Regions from separate parts of the Homo sapiens genome. Here region 1 is linked to region 2. The links are contacts of gene promoters, found by promoter capture Hi-C in blood cells and fetal thymus (Javierre and others, 2016). All regions are on one chromosome and are shown on one strand. Each heading gives the region's core, a stretch centred on a gene start or on the middle of the fragment in contact. The rest is flanking DNA. Distances are from core to core; before and after follow the strand shown. Region 1 overlaps CBFB (core-binding factor subunit beta). Region 2 holds the start of B3GNT9 (UDP-GlcNAc:betaGal beta-1,3-N-acetylglucosaminyltransferase 9).

Evidence for each region. The method cuts DNA at HindIII sites, captures the fragments that hold promoters and counts their contacts. A CHiCAGO score of 5 or more calls a contact.
Region 1: a contact is called between a fragment that was not itself captured here and the fragment with the promoter of B3GNT9 in region 2, in 1 of 17 cell types (activated CD4 T cells). The highest score is 5.1, in activated CD4 T cells.

The regions. Positions count from the first base shown.
Region 1 is chr16:67,069,859-67,076,100 of GRCh38, reverse strand. The region is part of intron 4 of CBFB (core-binding factor subunit beta); the gene reads right to left. Among named protein-coding and RNA genes, the nearest start is that of PHAF1, 37 kb to the left of the region's middle. The HindIII fragment of the contact is 4,178 bases long and covers 1,718-5,895 here.
Region 2 is chr16:67,147,707-67,153,580 of GRCh38, reverse strand. B3GNT9 (UDP-GlcNAc:betaGal beta-1,3-N-acetylglucosaminyltransferase 9) reads left to right here and starts at 2,583. Exons shown (of 2, transcript NM_033309.3): 1 at 2,583-2,716; 2 at 2,910-5,477. The coding sequence starts at 3,096. The coding sequence ends at 4,304. PHAF1 (phagophore assembly factor 1) reads right to left here. Exons shown (of 16, transcript NM_025187.5): 16 at 5,037-5,874. RefSeq lists silencers at 2,628-2,787, 2,798-3,227. The HindIII fragment of the contact is 3,664 bases long and covers 776-4,439 here.

The DNA of each region.
Region 1 (6,242 bases), core at 2,557-5,056, 79 kb after region 2:
CCACCACCATACCTAGCTAATTTTTGTATTTTTAGTTGATACGGGGTTTCACCATACTGGCCAAGGTGGTCTCGAACTCCTGACCTTGTGATCTGCCCACCTTGGCCTCCCAAAGTGCTGGGATTACAGGCATGAGCCACTGTACCCAGTTAATTTTTAAAAATTTTTGAAATTTTTAAATTTCAGGCTCTTCAACTCCTGGCCTGAAACAACCCTCCTGCCTTGGCCTCCCAAAGCGCTGGGATTACAAGGGTGAGGCACCATAACTGGCCTGTTCTGTACTCTCAATATTTTTGAGGAACTCACACATATTGGTGTTAGTTGTAGCTTTTCATTCTCAGTGTATTTGTGTGACCACGCACTTTATAAATTTCACTGTTAATGGCCATTTGCGCAGTTTACAATTTCTAGCTATTACTAATAATAGTTATAAATGTCCTAGCACATATTTTGTGATGAATATGCATATTCACTCCTGTTGCCATCATGCCTTGGAGTAGAACTGCTAGATCATAGTGTGTGTATATATATATACACACACACACACATATATGCATGCGCAGCTTGCATATTTACAGCCAGTTTTCCAAATGTTGTGCCAATCTTACATAACCAACACACCAACTGCTGCTCTACATTCTTGTCAATGTTTGGTACTGTCTTCTTCATTTGAACCATTCTGATGACTGTGTGGTAGTACTGTGGTTTTAATAATTATTTTTCTGATGATCCAAGAAAGCTGAATCCTTTTCATTTGCATAGCCTGTTTGTGAACTGCCTGTTAAATGTCTTTCGCCAATTTCTTTTAGGTTGTCTGTGTTTCCTTTCAATGAAAATATTTTCTCACTGAAATGTAAGAGTTCTTTACACACACACACACACACACACACACACACACACACATTTTTTTTGAGATAGAATCTCGCTCTGTTGCCCAGGCTGGAGTGCAGTGACGTGATCTCGGCTCACTGAAACCTCTGCCTCCCAGGTTCATGGGCTTCTCCTGCCTCAGCCTCCTGAGTAGCTGGGATTATAGGTGTGTGCCACCATACCTGGCTAATTTTTGTATTTTTTAGTAGAGATGGGGTTTTGCCATACCAGGCTGGTCTCCAACTCCTGGCCTCAAGTGATCTGCCCACCTTGGCCACCCAAAGTGTTGGGATTACAAGCATGAGCCACTGCGCCTGGCCTCTACATATTTTATGTAAGTCCTTTGCCAGAAAACATTTTCCACCACTGTTCAGGTTGCCTTTACATTCTCTTAATACTGTCTTTTGATAAACAGTTCTTGGTTTTACCATAATTCGTTATTTATCCATTTACTTACAGTTTAGCATCTTTTGTGTCCTGTTCAAGTTTTTGCCTACTCCAAGGTCACAAAATGATCTTCTCATTTTCCTTTAAAAAGCTTTACTGTTTCGGCCGGGCACAGTGGCTCATGCCTGTAATCCCAGCACTTTGGGAGGCCGAAGCGGGTGGATCATGAGGTCAAGAGATCGAGACCAGCGTGGCCAACATGGTGAAACCTCGTCTCTACTAAAAATACAAAAATTAGCAGGGTATGATGGCACGTGCCTGTAGTCCCAGCTACTTGGGAGGCTGAGGCAGGAGAATCACTTGAACCCGGGAGGCAGAGGTTACAGTGAGCTGAGATCACGCCACTGCACTCCAGCCTGGTGACAGAGCTAGACTCTGTCTCAAAAAAAAAAAAAAAGCTTTACTGTTTTACATTTTATAAACTGCTATCCATCTGAAATTGATTTTTGTGAATGGTATAAGGGGCTCTGATATATTTTCCCCTCACAGAAATGTTTTATTGTCCCAGCATCATTTACTGAAGAGACCTACCCCCTGCCCCCCACCCTTGTCTGCACTGCAGTGTCACCTTTGTCTTTGTTTATTGCTGGTATATAGAAATGTAACTGATGGTGTACTGACCTTGTATTACATCTAATGCCCTGTGAAATTCATGTGTTAGTTTTCTTAATAGTGTGTAAATTATCTTAGATTTTCTAAGTACATGCATCTTCTGCAAATAACAGCTTGGTGTTTTTTGTTTTTTGTTTTTTTTGAGATGGAGTCTTGCTCTGTTGCCCAGGCTTGGAGTGCAGTGGCACCATCTTGGCTCACTGCAAGCTCCGCCTCCTGGGTTCATGCCATTCTCCTGCCTCAGCTTCCCAAGTAACTACAGGTGCCCTCCACCATGCCCGGCTAATTTTTGTAGTTTTGGTTGAGACGGGTTTCACCATGTTGGCCAGGCTGGTCTCGAACTCCTTACCTCAGGTGATTTGCCCGCCTCAGCTTTCCAAAGTTCTGGGATTACAGGCATAAGCCACTGCGCCCGGCCTCGTGTTTTTTTGAGATGGAGTCTCACTCTGCTGCCCAGGCTGGAGTGCAATGGCACGATCTCGGCTCACCGCAACCTCCACCTCCTGGGTTTAAGTAATTCTCCTGCCTCAGCCTCCTGAGTAGCTAGAACCACAGGCACGCACCACCATGGCTAATTTTTGAATTTTCAGTAGAGACGGAGTTTCACCATGTTGGCCAGGCTGGTCTCGAACTCCTGACCTCAAGTGATCCACCTGTCTCGGCCTCTCAAGAGTGCAGGGATTACAAGTATGAGCCACTGCATCTGGTCACATGTCTTCTGTTTCTTTTTGGGAAAAGAATCTTGGATGGAATTCCATTTTTAACTGGAAATGATTTGATTCTGAAGTAACTGAACTTGGCAAAATTTTCAGAAGAATCATAAATAGAGACAGAATCATAAATAGAGACAGCTTTGACAGGTATTGTCTTATACCAAACTTGTCAAAGAAAGGCACTCTGGACAAAAGCAGAGACAATACCTGTGAAAATATTTCAGCTGAAATAGTTATACAATTTAATCTTTCAAAAATGGAATTGACTCTCTTCCATTTAGCTCTTAGTTTACCAGATACTTCAGCATTTGTTAGAGTATTTTGTCAATTTTTTACGTAGTTTACAGACACTCAATTGAAGATGTCAGCTGTTCCAAATTTACTAATTATAATATGCAACTCTGAAGCATATTGTGGGCACTTTTATGAAGAAAATAAAAGTAAGGGGCTAGATGCAGTGGCTCATGCCTATAATCCTAGTGCTTTGGGAGGCTGTGGCAGGAGGATCGTTTGAAGCCAGCAATTCAAGACCAGCCTGGCCAACATGGTAAGACCTCATCTCTACAAAAGATAAAAAAAATTAGCCAAGCACGGCAGGAGCTTGAGGCTGTAGTGAGCTGTCATTGTACCACTGCACTCTGGCCTGAGCAACAGAGCAAGACTCTGTCGCTAAAAAAAAAAAAAGAAAAAAGAGGCCGGGCATGGTGGCTCACGCCTGTAATCCCAGCACTTTGGGAGGCTGAGGCGGGCAGATCACCTGAGGTCAGGAGTTGAAGACCAGCCTGACCAACATGGAGAAACCCCGTCTCTACTAAAAATACAAAATTAGCCGGGCATGGTGGCACATGCCTGTAACCCCAGCTACTCAGGAGGCTGAGGCAGGAGAATCGCTTGAACCCAGGAGGCGGAGGTTGAGGTGAGCCCAGATTGTGCCATTGCACTCCAGCCGGGGTGAGAGAGCAAGACTCTGTCTGGAAAAAAAAAAGAAAAAAAAAGAAAAACAAGACCATATTGAAAAATCTATATATTCTTCAGAAAAATATTAGATACAGATATAAATAAGAGACTAATAAAGTGCATGAATAAATATCAAGACTAAGTATTCTGCTTATTAATCTTAATGTTCAGAAGATTAGCATAAAGATATAACTTTTATTTTGCTGTAATGTGCACATGTTGTTTTATTTAAAAACGTATTTTTAAAAATGTTTTTTGAATGAAACAATTTTTCTAGGGCTAGCAATATAATAAAATCAATTTGTGGGTCAAAATATTATATAATTTCAGTTAAACATGACCTTATACTTTTAGGAATAATACAGTTACAATAAGTAATATGGTCACTCTCATCCTATATCAAATTATATTACATTATGAATGATATAACATTAACCATGAACTTTAACTTTTCAAAAAACTGTTTTTTGGTTAATTCAGAAGAGTTATTTCTGCCTGTGTGATCAGCAGAGAGAAACAAAGCTGTGTTGGGCCATGGAAGTGAGGCTGCCACCGGCTCACTCGCTAGAGATGGGGCCTATTCCAGCCCAGTGAAAGAGGGCTGAAATCCATGCTTTGTGATTTTACACACTACTTCACAAGACAGACATCTGGAGAAGAGTGGAAACCCTAAGTATAAAATGCTAAAGTACAAGCAGTAACAAACAAGAGTCTTTGTTTAGGAACTGTACTGCACGCTAGATACTGTGCTAGGCACAGCCCTTTACATATGCTATCCCATTCAACTGCCCACAATCTTGTGGGCAGCATTATCCCATCTTAGGAAGGAGAAATCTGAGGCCTGGAGAGATTTAATAACTTGCCAGCATCACACAGCTAGTGTTTTAGTCATCTGAGGATGCCATACTAAAATACCATAAATGGAGTGGCTTAAACAACAGAAATTTATTTTCTCACATTTCTGGAGACTAGCAATCCCAGATCAATGTGCCAGCCAATTTGGTTCCCCGTGAGGAACCTCTTTCTGGCATGCAGACATCCATCTTCTCACTGTGTCCTCATACGGCAGAGAGAGAGACAGAGAGCTCTCTCCTGTCTCTTAAGGACACTAACCCTACTGGATCAGAGCCCCACTCTTACGCCTTTATCTAACCTTAATTACCTCCATAAATGCCCTATCTTCAAGTACAGTAACAACGGGAGTAGGGCTTCAACATATCAATTTGGGGATGGGGTAAACAAACATTCAGTTCATGAGAGCTGGTAAGTAGTGGGGCCAGGATTCACATTATACGACTATGAACTCCTGCCCCTAGCATCTACATTTCATTGCTTCTTTACTTATATTATCTTGCAGATGGGGACAAGGGGAGCTACAGGGAAGTACTGATTGCTGCCTAAATAGTTGGAGTCACCTGCTCTGAATTTTTTTTACTATACACTGTATAACTCCTATTATCGGTAAGAGTTATGTAACTCCATTGTGATAGTAGTAAACTATCACAACAGATGGCACTTAATTTGTAGTGATATAGTTCAATTTGGGGACTATGGAAATAAGGCTTGGAAAACTCCAAGTATAAAAAATGTTAAAAATTTTAACCTATTATCTTAATAAAATACTTTAGTTTTTGTTGTTTGTTTTTGAGACAGGGTCTTGTCTTGCTCTGTCACCCAGGCTGGAGTGCAGTGGTGTGATCTCGGCTCATTGCAATCTCAGCCTCCTGGGTTCAAGCAATCATCCCACCTCAGCTTCCTGAGTAGCTGGGTCTACAGGTGCACACCACCACAGCTGGCTAATTTTTTTTTTTTTTGGTAGAGACAGGGTTTTGCCACATTGCCCAGGTTGGTCTCAAACTCCTGGGACCAAGCAATACTCCCATCTCTGCCTTTCCAAGTGCTGGAATTACAAGCGTGAGCCACTGCACCCTGTCAAAATACTTTAGTTTTTTAAAAGTCAATCCAATCTGAATTTTCCTTATATAAATAAAGTCTGCTTTATCACTTCTTAACAGAAAATAGACTTTTAGATTGCTGGTTATTTATTATTTTTCTGAAAGAATTGGAAATTCATTAGCATTGTGGAAATCAGGGTAGTGCATGGATTCTTTCTTTATTTTTATGTTTAGAGATGAAGGTCTCATTATGTTGCCTAGGCTGGGCTGGAACTCCTGGGATCAAGGGATCCTCCTGCTTCAGCCTCCCAAGTAGCTAGGACTACAGGCATGTGCCACTGGGATGGCCTGGGCCAGACCAAGAATTCTTTCTTAAGACTTTTAACTTTGAATCCTAAGCTTTTCACTAGAAAGTTTTAATTTTTTGATCTCCTTTAAAGAAAATTCTTACATTTCCATATATAAAGAACTATATGGGAAGATACAACAAAGAAACAAAGAGTTTCTTTATGTTCCTGTTATTATTTTAACTTTATTAAGGTTAATATCAAGCAAACAATTAAAAGACATTAATACCTGCTAATAATCAGGTGCTTTTACATTTTCTTTGTTTTTAAAGAGACAGGGACTCACTCTGTCACTTAGGCTTGAGTGCAGTGGTGCGATCACAGCTCACTGCAGCCTCAAACTCCTGGGCTCAAGTGATCCTCCCACTTCGGTCTCCCAAAGTGCTGGGATTACAGGTGTG
Region 2 (5,874 bases), core at 1,334-3,833:
TCAGCCTCCCAAGTAGCTGGGATTACAGGCGCCCACCACCATGCCCAGCTAATTTTGTATTTTTAGTAGAGATGGGGTTTCTCCATGTTGGTCAGGCTGGTCTCAAACTCCTGACCTCAGGTGATCCACCCACCTTGGTCTCCCAAAGTGCTGGGATTACAGGCATGTGCCACCGCACCTGGCCAAGACTGGGAGGTTGATGAGGATGGGGGTGGGGGAAATGGTGGCCCCAGGCTGGGGCAGTAGCAGCAGAGATGGAGGGAAGGGGATGACCACCAAAGAGCTGTGTGGGTGGAAGAGTAACAGGCCTGGTGACACTGGGTGAGGAATGGCTGAGAGAGGGCCCCAAGTTTCTGCCTTTGCCAGTTGGATGGTGGGTGGGACTGCTTGCTGGGATGGGGCCCTGGGGGGAAATGAAATGCTTGCTCTGTTTGGGACAAGTTGAGCATGATGTTCCTGCAGTGCATCCGGGGAGAGAGTATGAGGGTAGTTGGGTCTGTAGTTCTGAGTTCAGGATGAGGGTTCAATCTAAAGATTGATGAATAGACAGGTGGGGAGTGGGTGGGGTGGCCCCAGGGGATGTCCTGAAGGACACCAACCAGAATGGGAACAGCCAAAGAGGAAGGAGGAAAACCAGGAGATTTGGAAACCAGGGGATTACCCACCCACTATAATGGAGCGGGTAGTCAAGACCGAGGAGTGTCTGTTGGACTCAGTTAAAAGGAGCTTACCAGTCAGGGGTCTTTCTGAGTCATGGTGGAGGCAGCCCGAAGCTTTATCACAGGAGGGAATGGAAGGTGAGGCCGCGGAGAAAGCTGGAGCAGAGGACTCCTGATTACTTTGTGACCAAAAAGAGTAAGGCTCAGGGTGGAGATTTGGCTTTTTTTTTTTTTTTTTTTTTTGGAGAGAGTCTCACTCTGTTGCCAGGTTGGAGTGCAGTGGCACGATCTCGGCTCATTGCAGCCTTCGTCTCCCGGGTTCAAGTGATTTTCCTGCCTCAGCCTCCCAAGTACCTGGGATTACAGGCACGTGCCACCATACCTGGCTAATTTTTGTATTTTTAATAGAGACAGGGTTTCTCCATGTTGGCCAGGCTGGTCTCAAACTCCTGGCCTCAAGTGATCCACCTGCCTTGGCCTCCCAAAGTGTTGGGATTACAGGAGTAAGCCACCACGACTGGCCTTTTTTTTTTTTTGAGACAGTCTCGCTCTGTTGCCCAGGATGGAGTGCAGTGGTGTGTTCTTGGCTCACTGCAACCTCCACCTTCCAGGTTCAAGCAATTCTCCTGCCTCAGCCCTCTAAGTAGCTGGGATTACAGGTGCCCACCACCATGTCTAGCTAATTTTTGTATTTTTAGTAGAGATGGGGGTTTCACCACGTTGGCCAGGCTGGTCTTGACTTCCTGACCTCAAGTGATCCACTCACCTCAGCCTCCCAAAGTGTTGAGGTTACAGGCATAAGCCACCACACCCAGCCAGAGAGGTGGCTTTTTAAGATTGAACATTGGTGGGAAGAAGCCGTCAGGAGCAGATATAGCCCTTGGACAGAGGATGGGGCTGGGTTCTTAAGAGACCAGTAGAGGCTGTCTATTCCAGGCTCCACCACATGGGCTGGGACCAAGAAAGAGAGAGCTGGCAGCTGAGCTGCGCAAGGACTTAGCTCTCCATTGCAGAGCACCTCTGTCCACCTGCATCCCAGAGCAATCCTTTAGCCAAGGCCTCCGCCAGGAGTCTTCCCAAGCTGTCCCCATCCTTGCCAGCCCTGTCTGACCTGCAGCTGCACAGGCCTGATCATTTCTACCTGCAGTAGGCTATGCTGGGGACCAGGGGACTCAGAACTGCACCTGGCTTGGGCTCAGGTCCATTAGCCCCCGGGGAGACAGGCTGAAGTGCTTGCCTGTGAAATTAAAGCAGACTGGGTTGGCCCCCTGTTCTGTATCCCAGTGGATGAATGAGCGGGGCAAGGACAGATAAAATAATCCTGGCCTGAATTTCAGAAGACCTGGGGGCAGAGCTTTCTGGCCTTTGGATCCTGGGCAAGTCACTTAACTCCCCGAAGAGCCCCCCAGTGTCCCCATCTGGGCATGAATGAGAGCTGCTGGCAGAGTTGCCCTGAGGATTGGGTGGGCTGCCTTGTTTGTCCCGTGCGTGTGTTTACTGGGGGTGGGGAGCATGGCAGAACCAGGAGTAAGAAGACAGCCATGTGTCTCGGGGGCAGCGTATGCACCCTGCCTGATGGAATCAGGGCTGCTGAGGAGAGGCCCGCCCGGGATGGTGGCCAGGTTCATGCGCATTTGGAACCGGCCTGCTCAGGGGCTCCTAGCAGCCCAGGCTCCGCCCCACTCCAGAGACGCGGGAGTGGGGAGTGGATAGTTGGGGGAGCTAACCAGGGGAGTTGATGCTTCTTCCCAATCCCCAGAAAGGCGAATTTGGGGTGTGAGCACCCAGACCAGCCCTTCCCAGAGGGACTGAGAGTGAGGAGGCTCCCTCTCAGGGATTAGTCCCCACTCTGAGGCCGGAGTGCTCCTGGCGCCGGGGCGGAGCTGAGCTCCAGAAGTCTGGGCGCGCACAGCTGGAGGGTCACGTGGCACGGCACCGGTCCCCCTTCCTGCCAACGCTGCATTTGGCTCGGGCCCGGTCCATGGCGGCCCCTCGGACCCTGCGCTGAGCCCCGGAGGCCAGGGCGTCCGGGGCTGCGCCACTTCCGAGGGCCGAGCGTGAGTGTCGGGACCCCAGGGCCCGACATTGAGGGGATGGCAGGGTGGAAGGGATTCGGCCTCAGCGCGAGGGAGGCGGGCGGGGGAGGGGCCGAGGCTCCCAGTCTCCCTGCCCGGCCCTGGGTCGCAGTCCTGGGCCGGAGCTGAGGCCGCGGGGGAGTTGGCTACATGGGTGAACTTCTTGTCCCTTCAGGCTGCCGGTCCCGGCGGTGCGACACGGCCGGGAGGAGGAGAACAACGCAAGGGGCTCAACCGTCGGTCGCTGGAGCCCCCCCCGGGGCGTGGCCTCCCGCCCCCTCAGCTGGGGAGGGCGGGGCTCGCTGCCCCCTGCTGCCGACTGCGACCCTTACAGGGGAGGGAGGGCGCAGGCCGCGCGGAGATGAGGAGGAGGCTGCGCCTACGCAGGGACGCATTGCTCACGCTGCTCCTTGGCGCCTCCCTGGGCCTCTTACTCTATGCGCAGCGCGACGGCGCGGCCCCGACGGCGAGCGCGCCGCGAGGGCGAGGGAGGGCGGCACCGAGGCCCACCCCCGGACCCCGCGCGTTCCAGTTACCCGACGCGGGTGCAGCCCCGCCGGCCTACGAAGGGGACACACCGGCGCCGCCCACGCCTACGGGACCCTTTGACTTCGCCCGCTATTTGCGCGCCAAGGACCAGCGGCGGTTTCCACTGCTCATTAACCAGCCGCACAAGTGCCGCGGCGACGGCGCACCCGGTGGCCGCCCGGACCTGCTTATTGCTGTCAAGTCGGTGGCAGAGGACTTCGAGCGGCGCCAAGCCGTGCGCCAGACGTGGGGCGCGGAGGGTCGCGTGCAGGGGGCGCTGGTGCGCCGCGTGTTCTTGCTGGGCGTGCCCAGGGGCGCAGGCTCGGGCGGGGCCGACGAAGTTGGGGAGGGCGCGCGAACCCACTGGCGCGCCCTGCTGCGGGCCGAGAGCCTTGCGTATGCGGACATCCTGCTCTGGGCCTTCGACGACACCTTTTTTAACCTAACGCTCAAGGAGATCCACTTTCTAGCCTGGGCCTCAGCTTTCTGCCCCGACGTGCGCTTCGTTTTTAAGGGCGACGCAGATGTGTTCGTGAACGTGGGAAATCTCCTGGAGTTCCTGGCGCCGCGGGACCCGGCGCAAGACCTGCTTGCTGGTGACGTAATTGTGCATGCGCGGCCCATCCGCACGCGGGCTAGCAAGTACTACATCCCCGAGGCCGTGTACGGCCTGCCCGCCTATCCGGCCTACGCGGGCGGCGGTGGCTTTGTGCTTTCCGGGGCCACGCTGCACCGCCTGGCTGGCGCCTGTGCGCAGGTCGAGCTCTTCCCCATCGACGACGTCTTTCTGGGCATGTGTCTGCAGCGCCTGCGGCTCACGCCCGAGCCTCACCCTGCCTTCCGCACCTTTGGCATCCCCCAGCCTTCAGCCGCGCCGCATTTGAGCACCTTCGACCCCTGCTTTTACCGTGAGCTGGTTGTAGTGCACGGGCTCTCGGCCGCTGACATCTGGCTTATGTGGCGCCTGCTGCACGGGCCGCATGGGCCAGCCTGTGCGCATCCACAGCCTGTCGCTGCAGGCCCCTTCCAATGGGACTCCTAGCTCCCCACTACAGCCCCAAGCTCCTAACTCAGACCCAGAATGGAGCCGGTTTCCCAGATTATTGCCGTGTATGTGGTTCTTCCCTGATCACCAGGTGCCTGTCTCCACAGGATCCCAGGGGATGGGGGTTAAGCTTGGCTCCTGGCGGTCCACCCTGCTGGAACCAGTTGAAACCCGTGTAATGGTGACCCTTTGAGCGAGCCAAGGCTGGGTGGTAGATGACCATCTCTTGTCCAACAGGTCCCAGAGCAGTGGATATGTCTGGTCCTCCTAGTAGCACAGAGGTGTGTTCTGGTGTGGTGGCAGGGACTTAGGGAATCCTACCACTCTGCTGGATTTGGAACCCCCTAGGCTGACGCGGACGTATGCAGAGGCTCTCAAGGCCAGGCCCCACAGGGAGGTGGAGGGGCTCCGGCCGCCACAGCCTGAATTCATGAACCTGGCAGGCACTTTGCCATAGCTCATCTGAAAACAGATATTATGCTTCCCACAACCTCTCCTGGGCCCAGGTGTGGCTGAGCACCAGGGATGGAGCCACACATAAGGGACAAATGAGTGCACGGTCCTACCTAGTCTTTCCTCACCTCCTGAACTCACACAACAATGCCAGTCTCCCACTGGAGGCTGTATCCCCTCAGAGGAGCCAAGGAATGTCTTCCCCTGAGATGCCACCACTATTAATTTCCCCATATGCTTCAACCACCCCCTTGCTCAAAAAACCAATACCCACACTTACCTTAATACAAACATCCCAGCAACAGCACATGGCAGGCCATTGCTGAGGGCACAGGTGCTTTATTGGAGAGGGGATGTGGGCAGGGGATAAGGAAGGTTCCCCCATTCCAGGAGGATGGGAACAGTCCTGGCTGCCCCTGACAGTGGGGATATGCAAGGGGCTCTGGCCAGGCCACAGTCCAAATGGGAAGACACCAGTCAGTCACAAAAGTCGGGAGCGCCACACAAACCTGGCTATAAGGCCCAGGAACCATATAGGAGCCTGAGACAGGTCCCCTGCACATTCATCATTAAACTATACAGGATGAGGCTGTACATGAGTTAATTACAAAAGAGTCATATTTACAAAAATCTGTACACACATTTGAAAAACTCACAAAATTGTCATCTATGTATCACAAGTTGCTAGACCAAAATATTAAAAATGGGATAAAATTATACATTTTTCTTCTCAGTTCTTTTCAAAAGGATTAATATTTTTAAAGCACATATATGCTACTTTCCATTAGCAAGACCCATGAAGGGACTGAGCAGCCCAGCCTTCCTTGAGCCCCCAGAGGCTTTGAGCCATGAAATGGCCCAGCCAGGGGCCAGTGCCCAGGGTTGGGGCAGAGAGCCAGCCCACAGTGCAGAACAGAATGCTGAAACACAACAAAAGTAGGAAGATGTCTTTGGCTAAAACTTTGGCATTAAATAAAAGAGGCAAACAGGATGGAAACATGCAGCCCTGCCAGCCAGGATGGGGCAGAGCAGGGGCACAGGCAATCTTGAAAGCTGACTCCAACAGGGGTGAGAACCAGGCCTGGGCATGTACCTGGATGGTAGAAAGCTGTGT